Regions from separate parts of the Homo sapiens genome. Here region 2 is linked to region 1. Evidence: promoter capture Hi-C in 16 types of primary human blood cells and fetal thymus (Javierre and others, 2016). All regions are on one chromosome and are shown on one strand. Each heading gives the region's core, a stretch centred on a gene start or on the middle of the fragment in contact. The rest is flanking DNA. Distances are from core to core; before and after follow the strand shown. Region 1 holds the start of VPS13D (vacuolar protein sorting 13 homolog D). Region 2 overlaps TNFRSF8 (TNF receptor superfamily member 8).

What was found. The method cuts DNA at HindIII sites, captures the fragments that hold promoters and counts their contacts. A CHiCAGO score of 5 or more calls a contact.
Region 2: a contact is called between a fragment that was not itself captured here and the fragment with the promoter of VPS13D in region 1, in 2 of 17 cell types (activated CD4 T cells and naive CD8 T cells). The highest score is 6.1, in activated CD4 T cells.

Annotation. Positions count from the first base shown.
Region 1 is chr1:12,226,951-12,232,640 of GRCh38, reverse strand. VPS13D (vacuolar protein sorting 13 homolog D) reads right to left here and starts at 2,611. Exons shown (of 70, transcript NM_015378.4): 1 at 2,521-2,611. RefSeq lists silencers at 2,552-2,720, 2,257-2,786 and an enhancer at 1,932-2,862. The HindIII fragment of the contact is 6,412 bases long and covers 1-4,409 here.
Region 2 is chr1:12,084,211-12,089,544 of GRCh38, reverse strand. TNFRSF8 (TNF receptor superfamily member 8) reads right to left here. Exons shown (of 15, transcript NM_001243.5): 2 at 4,994-5,081. Among named protein-coding and RNA genes, the nearest start is that of TNFRSF8, 24 kb to the right of the region's middle. RefSeq lists enhancers at 1,436-1,775, 1,796-1,905. The HindIII fragment of the contact is 7,646 bases long and covers 153-5,334 here.

The DNA.
Region 1 (5,690 bases), core at 1,362-3,861:
AAAGACTAATTTTAGTATTACAAAAAGTCAACATGAGGGAAACTGAGACACAAAAGTTTAACTGGGTTCTGAGATTGCTCAACTAGAAGATCCCAGTGGAAACTGTGAGCCTCAAATCTTGTTCTGATCCACCATGTCAGTCATCAGCCACCCTGCCAGGCACTACAGACTTGCCATGGCACGCATCCCACTGGAGCCAGCCTACTTTCAGGATCCTCTCCAAGCACGCTGCCCCACCTCTAGTGATTCATCTTAGTGCCAGAAGATACACCTATCCCAACTGAGAGGCTGCCATCCAACAACTACCTGAAGCACAAGGCCTCCACAAGAATGAATTCAATCTCCTGGAAAAACTGGCTTTTGTTTGTCAACAATATCTTGTACTTCCAGAGAAGATTAACTTTTATTGGTCAACAGTGACAGCAAAAAGAAAAAAACAGCATTTGGTAAAATATTTGACCAATTTCTTTCCAAAGATTTTTTTTTCTGCAAATGGAATATAAAGATATTTTTTAAGGGTAGAGTTACATAAAACTAATTATTAGCTACATTTGTTTAAAGAAGATGTTATAAGAACAATTTTTTAAAAAAAATGCTCAACAGTCTGAATAAAAGAAACATTTCTCTATTGTAACTTTTTTTTCTGGAGACAGAGTGTTGCTCCCTCGCCCAGGCTGGAGTGCAGTGACGGGATCTCGGATCTCGGCTCACTGCAACCGCCATCTCCTGGGTTCAAGCGATTCTCCTACCTCTGCCTCCTGAGTAGCTGGGATTACAGGCACCTGCCACCATCCCCGGCTAAGTTTTGTATTTTTGGTAGAGACAGGGTTTCATCATGTTGGCCAGGCTGGTCTGAAATCCTGACCTTAAGCGATCTGCCCACTTTGGCCTCCCAAAGTGCTGGGATTACAGGCGTGAGCCACCGTGCCCGGCCACTATTATAACTTGAAAGGAGTAAATTTGTGAAAACCAAATGTGAAACTGACTAATCTTACTATGGGGACTCCAAACAAATTTGAGCAAGAAGCCAAGGTCAGAGTACTCTTTATTTTTGTAGTTATTGCCACTAATTTCGGCCCTAAATGCCAACTCTGAGTGCCAATTACCAATTATCTCCAAATCAAGGGAAACAACTGTCAGTTTGTAAACAAGTTCAGGCCCTACCCTACTTGCCCTAAACGGAAAAGAATGCAAAGCACAGATTTTAAAAGCATGAGTGATTAGCATTGTGAGGCAACCTGGTCAGTAACATTGAGGCCCAAACCAGAAAGCACCCATTATTTGCTCTGCTAAGCATCTAGACCGTGCTTGAGGCCACTTCAAGGATTCCCTGAAGGAATTCAGTGTCAGCAAGGGCCGCCAGACTGGCCAGAGTCCCAAAGTGTTTACACTCCGGTCCATCAGGACTTCTAGGCAGCTGCCTGGCACTGGCACTAACCCCCACCTGGGCTCCCCTACCCAGTGGGGCGGGTGACAGTAGGGATCAGTGCTGAGCCCACGGGCGGGCAGACAGCCGGGCATGACCTTGAGCCAGGCCCCTCCCCTGAGGAGCGGCCAGACCGGGAATAGGAAGGACTGGCAACCGGACCTGGGCGTCCCTCCCCGAGGCGGCCAGGGCTGAACGCTGCCGGCGCCAGGGAGCTCCAAAACCGGGGCGGGGACGGCTGTGCGACCGGTGGCCCCACAGGAACGGCACTGCCCGGAAGGCGACGCTCCCACAACCCTCCCGCCCCCAGCTCTCGGAACCCTCAGCCCCCTCCAGGGGACAGAGACCCCACCACCCAAGTAAAACCTGGAGGGAACGGCGCCGGGATCCCATACCTAGGAGGAGTGGCTGGGCCAGGGCGTGACCCTGGGGGGTAAAAGGTAAAGAGAGGTTTTAGGCCTGATGTCTGGCATCCCACACCTAGGAGGAGTGGCTGGGCCAGGGCGTGACCCTGGGGGGCAAAAGGTAAAGAGAGGTTTTAGGCCTGATGTCTCCACGCGAGAGTGTGACCTCGGGTGGCTGATTAAGGGAGGTGGCTAAGGCATTCTAGAGAACTGACACCCCACTCTTCGGCGTAATGTGGGGGGCTCGCACACTGGGGTCCTGCATTGAGACCAAGGCTCAGGCGGACAGGCGCGGACTGACACCCCCCAATTCCAGGGCGCCAGGCTGCTGGGACCCCGGAAAGTGTGCCGGGGTCCAGCGGGGGCTCGGGCTCCCCAGGACACGGACGTCGGGGTTCCCAGAGGTTCAGCCAGCCCCGAGCCTGTGCTTGGGGAGCTCGCGGGGACTCGGACGCAGGGGTCCCCGGAGGTGGCGGGCTTGGGGCCCGGGGGGAGCAGACGCCCAGGGTTACCCCGAGGGGCTCAGACCGAGGCCGGACGACGGGGCCCCCAGGCTCCTAGCATCGCTCTCCCCAGGGTGGGCCCGGGCCCCCATGTCCAGGCGGAGCCCTAGCGGCGGCCCGCGGGTCCGCGCCGGCCCTGCAGTTCCCGACCCTGGCCCCGCCCGGCACGGAGCCGCTCGGCCCCTACCTGTCGGTGTCCCGGGCCGCCCGCCCCAGCCCGGCGCTGCGCGGCGTTTCCTCCCCGCCGCTCCTCAATGGCGCAGGCCCGCGGCGCTCAGGCCGGCCCCGACCCGACCAATCGAGCGGCCGACGCGCCGGTGCCTGGCCAGCCGAGCGCCGAGTTATCGAGGAGGCGCCCCCTGGCGCCGGCGGCCGCTCCTGCAGTGGTGCGGGCCCCTCCAGGGTTCGCGGACACTGGGGCTTATTTTATAGGTGGGGAAATTGAGTCCCAGGGGAGGGCAGGGCCACAAATGACTCTGGTTCAGACAGCATGGGAACCCAGGATTCTTCCCACCTACAACCACCCTGCCTTCCATCCAAGCGAAAGGTGCGATTGGCCGTCCGTCTGGCCCACTCACCCACAGTCCGTTCCCCACTTCGCAGCCACAGGGGCCTGTTAATTCAGACCCTGCCCTTCCCTGCTTAAAACGGCGTCCCCACCGTACTTCAGTTAAAACCCACCTCCTTACAGAGCTGCCACCAAGGTCCCACTGGATCTGGTCCCTTCCCATTTCAGCCACTTTTTCCCCGGCCGACTCTGCCTCAGCATCCTTCAGTTTCTGCCCCAGGAACTGTACCTTTGCCGTTGTCTCTACCTAGGACCCTTCTCCTCAGACCAATAGAAACACAATGCCAGCCACATAGGCAATCCACATTTACTAGCTAGTACATTTTTTTTAAACGAAAAAGAAGAAAATGAACTTCATTTTAATATATTTAATCCAATATGTTCAAAATATGATCATCTCAACATGTCGCCAAAAGAAAAAATTACTAATACAATATGTTAACTTTTTTATAGTAAGTTTTTGAAATTCGGGTATATTTTACATTTACTGCGCATCTCAGTACAAACTAGCCAGAATTCCAGTGCTCAATACCCTCTTGTGGCCAATCCAGAGCTACAGAATAGCTCTGGATATTCGTATAGCTGACTCCCTCTGGCTTCAAATATTCCACTCAGAGAGGACTTGTGCCTATCTACGGTTCCATTATGAGCTGGGCACAGTGGCTCATGCCTGTAATCCCAGCACTTCAGGAGGCTGAGGCGGGCGGATCACTGAAGTCAGGAGTTTGAGACCAGCCTGGCCAACATAGTGAAACCCCATCTCTACTAAAACTACAAAAATTAGCCGGGCGTGGTAGTGCACACCTGTAGTCCCAGCTACTGGGGAAGCTGAGGCAGGAGAATCACTTGAACCCGGGAGGCGGAGGTTGCAGTCAGCCGAGATCACCCCTCTGCACTCCAGACAGAGTGAGACTCCCTCTCAAAAATGAAAATAAAAATAAAGTTCCATTATCCATTACCCTGTTGTATTTTATTCATGGAACCTAATACTCCCTGAGATTATCTTGTTTGTTTATACATATGTTGTTCTTTCCCCAGTACCTTGAAAACAGAGATTTTATCCCTTTCACAGTGTTTCTTCAACACCTAGACATTGCCTAGCACAGAAAAGACTCAATGAGTGTGTATGAATGAACAGCTGAACACTTCCTCCTTGCATTATCACAAGAAGGGCAAGAGGGAGACCTCAGGCTCATATAAATTAGAAGATGCAGGAAGCAGAACGGCAAGGTTACAATCATGTATTTACCATAATAATTACCAACCCTCATGATGCTAAGCTAATGAGGGTGCATGTTGGGCTGACTCACTCCTGAGCAAGACTGGGGTTCCTGTATGGTGGGATCAACCTCTCAGAATCTGGATGCTGGGTCTCCTCTGGGGCTGAGGTTTGGGAGTAAAACCTGGAACTCCACAGACAGAAGGAGGAAGGAAGGCAGTCCTTCAGAGGTGAAGGACCTCGAAGTCCAGATCACCTAGCACAGACAATTGGCTGTACCTGGGAAGCTTGTTAGAAATGCACATGGCCCAGGCCAGGCGCGGTGGCTCATGCCTGTAATCTCAGCACTTTGGGAGGCAGATGTGGGTGGATCACCTGAGGTCAGGAGTTCAGGACCAGCCTGACCAACTTGGCAAAACCCCATCTCTACTAAAAATACAAAAATTAGCCGGGCATGGTCACAGGTGCCTGTAATCCCAGCTACTCTCCTGGCTAAGGCAGGAGAATTGCTTGAACCCAGGAGGCAGAGGTTGCAGTGAGCCGAGATCTCGCCATTGCACTCCAGCCTCGGCAACAGAGCAAGACTCCATCTCAAAAAAAATCCAAAAAAATACTGCACATGGCCTGGCACCGTGGCTCACACCAGTAATCCTAGCACTTTGGGAGGCCAAGGCAGTGGGGGGGATTTTTTGAGGCCAGGAATTCAAGACCAGCCTGTGCAACATAAGGAGACCCCAATCTCTACAAAAAATTATAAATGAAAAAATTAGCTGGGCACGGTGGCACATGCCTGTACTCCCAACTACTGGGAGGAGGATTGCTTGAGCCCATGAGTTCAAGGTTACAGTGAGCAATGATCATGCCTGTGCACTCCAACCTGCGCAACAGAGACCCTGTCTCAAAAATGCAAATTCCTGGGCACCATTGATTCGACCAGTATTACTGAAAGTCTTCGTGCCCCCAGTTTCCTATAAATGTTTAAATATACATTTACCATACAGCAATCCCACTGCTAGATATTAGCCAAGAGAAATTAAAACATATGCCCACACCAAGACTTATACATGAACACTCATAGCAGCTTTATTCATAAAAGCCAGAAACAAAAAAAAACAATCAAAATGTCCATCAACAGGAGAGTGGACAAACAAATTGCAACATAGTCATACAATGGAGCACTACTCACCAACAAAAAGGTGAGTAGGGCTGACGCAGGCACGATCTGGAGGAACCTCAAAAGTATTAGCTATGTGGAAAAAGACCACATACCGTAGTGATTTCATTTCTGTGAAATTCCAGAAAAGACAAAACTGTCAGAGGAACTACAGGCTACAGATGCACTACCACACCCAGCTGATTTGGGGGGTTTTGTTTGTTTGTTTGTTTGTTTGTTTGAGACAATCTTACTCTGTCGCCCAGGCTGGAGTGCAGTGGCACAATCTCGGCTCACTGCAGCCTCTGCCTCCCAGGTTCAAGTGATTCTCATGCCTCAGCCTCCCGAGTAGCTGGGATTCCCGACGTGCACCACCACGCCCGGCTAATTTTTGTATTTTTAGTAGAGATGGGGTTT
Region 2 (5,334 bases), core at 2,726-5,225, 140 kb after region 1:
CCACGCCCACATACTTCCTCCTATACAAAAGAACCCTGGTGGATTTTTCAGGCTTAAAGAAAAGACTAGGATGTACCTGCGAGTGGGATGGACAGGAGAGAGAGGCTGGTCTGACTTCAGCAGAGGGAGGTGCCAGGGGGACAATGGAAGCTTGGCCCTGTGAGGCAATGGCTGGCTGTCACAGAAGAGTATGCGGGGCAAGTTAGCCATATTCATTCATTCACCTATTCTTTCAAAAATTGAGACTCTACTATGTGCCAAGCCCTGGGGTCAGGGCTGGGGATCCTGCAGGAAGACGATAGACAAGTCATGACACATGGAAGGAGTGTTAGGAAAGTGGAACCATGGGAGGCACCAAGAGCCCAGAGCCAAGACCTCTGAGCTGGCTTGGGGTCAGGGAGGGCCATCCCTCCATCCATCCAACAAATGTTTATTTCTCTTTTTTTTCGAGATAGAATCTCGCTCTGTGGCCCAGGCTGGGGTCAGGGAGGGCCTACACTTAAGTGGACCCTGAGGAATGCAGAGGTGTGAGTCAAGCACACAGGGACAGTGGGGGGCCAGGAGGTGCTGTGAGGGGGCTCTGCTGGGACAGTGTCAGAGGGCACAGGGGAGCCCAGCACACTCAGCTGAAGCCCAGGATGAAGAGGGACTGGGCGGGGGAGGGGGAGGCGGCAGGGGCAGCAGCTGTCATGCCAAATGGGCGTGCCCATGCACAAAGCTGAGCTTTACCCAAGGGCAGCGGAAGCTGGGGGAACCCACAAACCCCCTCCTCCTCCTCCTTCCTGTTCACAGCCTTCGGAGGAACCCTCAGCTCCTGGGACAAGATGGGATACACCTGCCATGCTCCCTACCTAACACTTGGCCTGGCCTCACATCCTTCCCCTGAACCTGGGCAGGCCTCAAACATCTGCAGGAGAGACCCCTTCCTGTGGGGAGCGAGTCTGCACACAAAGAGAGGGTAGTCCAGGAAGATGGAGAACAGGAAGGGCTTTGTAGCCCCCGCATTAGCTCTTCACTCGTAAACTCTTCTGCCTCCCAAATTCGAGGCCTTGAGGGTCAGTATCAACTACAGTTGAAGAGCTCAGGAGACTGCACTCGGTGGTCATGTTCACGGCCCGGCTGAGCCACTGATACGCATGTGGCCTTGTGCAAATTCCTGAACCCCTCGGTGTCCAAGTTTCCTCTCTGGATTTCTTATCAGGATTGAAGGAACTTAAGGTCGGTAAAGGGCCCAGCACAGTGGCCAGCACATAGCGTGCTCCATCGGTATGAATCGTGGTCATTGTTATGAGTCAGTGAATGAGCTCCCCGTCACCAAGAGTATGTAAGCAAAGGGCTGGGGACCTGCTCTCAGGAATGCTGGAGAGGGCATCACAGGCCTGGGTGCAAGGAGGGATTCGATGACATCTACATTTTTCAATCTCAAAGGTCCCTCAGCTTCCTTCCTCCACCAACCCGCCCACAAGCAAACCCGGCCACACAGCTGAGTGCTGGCTGCACAGGGCAGGCAAAATGTCAAGAAATTTCCCCGAGAGATCAAAGAAGGGGTTTTTGTGGGTTTTTCTTTTTTCTTCTCTGGCTACACGGAAGCACAAGGTCAATAAAACACCAGTAAAATGCCCCACCCACCACACCAATATGGAGTATTCAGCCCCAGCCAGCACTGGGCCTTAGAGAGGGGAAGTGGGGAGGAGGGAGCCCCCTCTTCCTAAGTCACAGCTTTTAAGTGGAGGGAGCCTGGGACCTGAGATGTCATTTTTCTCTCCACCCACTCCCCATCAAGGCCCTTTCAGGCTGGAGTCAAAGGGGCCAGAAGAGGATGAGAAGGAAGTGTCTTTCTCCTTGTGGCTGGGATTGTGGGTCCCATGAAAAGTCATAGAACACTGTGGGCCACTCCATTCCAGAGGATAAAAACCACAGCAAGCGGGCCCTGAGAGAACTGAGTGGGAACCACCACCAACCATCAGGCTAGCAAGGGAAGGCCTCATGGAGGAAGGGGTTCCAGAATTGCAGCAGGTAGGGACGGAGGGGAGGGCATCCCACATGGGGACAGGCATGTCCAAAGGCCCAGAAACTAGGCCTGGCACAGTGGCTCATGCCTGTAATCCCAGCACTTTATGAGGCCAAGGCGGGCAGACCACTGGAGGTCAGGAGTTGAAGACCAGCCTGGCCAACACGGTGAAACCCCATCTCTACTAAAAATACAAAAACTAGCTGGGTGTGGTGGCACATGCCTGTAATCCCAGCTACTCAGGAGGCTGAGGCAAGAGAATTGCTTGAACCTAGGAGGCGGAGGTTCCAGTGAGCCAAGATCACACCACCGTACTCCAGCCTGGACTACAGAGACAGACTCTATCTCAAAAAAAAAAAAAAAAAAAAGAGAGAGAGAGAGAAATAAAAATTTGTTGGATGGATGATGGATGGATGGATGGATGGATGGATGGATGGATGGATGGATGGATGGATGGATAGAAAGGTAGATGAGAAAATGGCCAGGAGAGGGGTGGGTGTATGGATGGGGGCGGTGAATGGGAGGATAATTGGAGGGATATGGGAAGGCGATGGTGCTATGGACTGAATTGTGTCCCCCACAAAGTTCATATGTTAAATGTGTTGAAACCCTAACCCCAGTGTGACTGTATTTGGAGATAGGACTTTTAGGAGATAATTAAGGTTAAATGAGGTCATAAGGATGGGGCCCTAATCCAGGGGGATTGGTGGCATATATGAAGAGGGGGAAAGAGAGAGAAAGAGAGAGAGAGATCGATCTTCCCACCATGAGAAGACTGCCATCTGCAAGCCAAGAAGACAGCCCTCACCAGAAACCAAATCCTCCAAAAACCTTGATCTTGGACCTTCAAGCCTCCAGAACTGTAAGAAATAAATGTCTATTGTTTAGGTCACCCAGACTACAGTATTTTGTTATGGCAGCCCCAGCAAACTAATACAGATGGATGGATGGATAGTGGCTAGATGGGAAGAAAAATGGAAAGGGGATGGGAGGGGTGGGTTGGTGAGTGGTTAAAAAGATGGGTGGGTGGGCAGGTACTTGGATGGGTGGGTGGGTGAGGGGGGCAGGTACTTGGATGGGTGGGTGGATGGCCGACCAGTGAAGCACTGAAAAAACCAGGGGACCCACCTAATAGATCATTCAAAATCAACACTAAACCAAAAATAAAAGCAAGAAAGTCCAATAGCATCCAACCCACTACTTTTGCCCATACAATGAATACTTTGAATCATTGTTGGAAATACAAATCAAAATCAAATACAAAAACATCAAATTCTTTCCAAGAATGTTTCCCTCTGTCCTTTGGTGGCCTGAGCACGAGCCTGGTCTGCATCTCATGGGGGAGTTGAGGCCACAAGTCTAGGAACTGACTGACCTGGGTTCCCGCGCAGCTCCAGTGGAATAGCCCTGATGGCCATAACCTGTCACCACCCTCCAGACAGTACAGCTGGGTGGATGGGCCCCTCCGCCCCCACTGTCGGAAGCCCTCCAGACGATGCCCGCCCACTTGCAATGGCCTGCTGTCCTCAAAGCAAGAAGTGGCGATGATGAACCAGACACACACAGACTCCCTCCCACCCTTGCTGGCACAGCTAAAGGCTGATGTCCCCGTGACAATCTCTGTTCCTGGAGGTCAGAGACCACGAGGGCATCGTTATGTCCTGCCCCGCCCATCTAAGACCACTGGTGGTGCCTTGGGACTTTTGATAATAACCACAGGGGCAGAAATGCCTCATGACCCTATTCCAGCTGCTTATCTCCTCGGGCCTAAGCATCATCTACAAAATGGAAGGAACAACACTCACCCCAGCTCCAGAAGGATTTCCTGGTAATTGACTAGAAGTCAATCACGGTGCTGGGGGTGGGGGAACATTCCAGAAAGGGAGCTCTGGTCTGGGAGACTGGTCTCAGAGAAATCTATTGTCCAGGTTGTCCCAGGATAAACACCTGTCCTGAGCTGGGGCAGTCAAGAACGGCAAAGAGGCCAGGCATGGAGGCTCATGCCTGTAATCCCAGTGCTTTGGGAGGCTGAGGCAGGAGGACTAATTGAGCCCAGGAGCTCAAGACCAGCCTGTGCAATATAGCGAGACTTTGTCTCTATTTTAAATTAATATAAAAAAATTAGGCCGGGCACGTTGGTTCATGCCTGTAATCCCAGCACTTTGGGAGGCTGAGGCGGGTGGATCACCTGAGGTCAGGAGTTTGAGACCAGCCTGGCCAATATGGCGAAACCCTGTCTCTACTAAAAATACAAAATTAGCCAGGTGTGGTGGTGCATGCCGGTAATCCCAGCTACTTGGGAAGCTGAGTCAGGAGAATCGCTTGAACCCGGGAGGTGGAGGTTGCAGTGAGCCGAGATTGCACCATTGCACTCCAGCCTGGGCAACAAGAGCAAAACTCCATCTCAAAAAAAATAAAAATAAAAATAAGAGAGAAAAGAAAGAACTGCAAAGGACTTCTGGGCCCCAGAAATGAAGGGTGGTCAGAGGATGTTGACAGCCCAGGCTTTGAGGTCTCTGAGCCCTGGGCCCCAGCCCTGATCATTCCACCATTTCCCAACTGTGTGACCCTGGTCATCAAGGGAAGTAGCTGGAACTTAACCCTGCCAAGCCCCAGTAGCCTCATCTGCAAATTGAGTGTAATAAAGGATCATTGCAAGCACTTAATGAGATGATGCCGTGCATATAAAGGTCTCGGACTCATGGATAGTAAGTGTCCAATAAAGGGCAGCTCTACGTTAAAAATAAAAACTCATGGAGATGGACATTCTGGTGGCAGCAAGAAACACAGTCTCAATTCTACAGCCCTAGCCTTCCGAGAGAGTCCTTGGACTCCGCGACACTAGGAATGACCTGCAGAAAACTGTAGCCAATTATGACGATGACGGTTGGCTCCAATTTCCCCACTCATCAATCCCCCAAGAGGGTCATCAATTGAGGACAAATTTCCCCCCTTCTCCCCACCCCCAACGCCCCCACTCACCCATGGGGCAGCGGTAACAGCACCTCCTGACAGCCTTGTCATAGTAGTGGCTGGGGTTTCCATGACAGGTGTCCTCGAAGGGTCGATCCTGGCAGGTCAGAAAAGCTGGTGAGGCCAGGTGGATCCCAGATATCCATACTCCCTCTGTCCCCACCAGTCCCAGGAGGCCTGAGACGGAGCTTTGTAATATAGGAGAGAAATCAGGACGAGAACTCCTGATTCCACAAACCCACACCGCCCTTACGCTTCCCCCTGCTACTCCAGCTCAGGCCAGAAACTTTAGCGTCTCCCTTGACTCTCTCCTCTCAAACAACCTATCAGCAAATTCTCCTGGCCCTTTT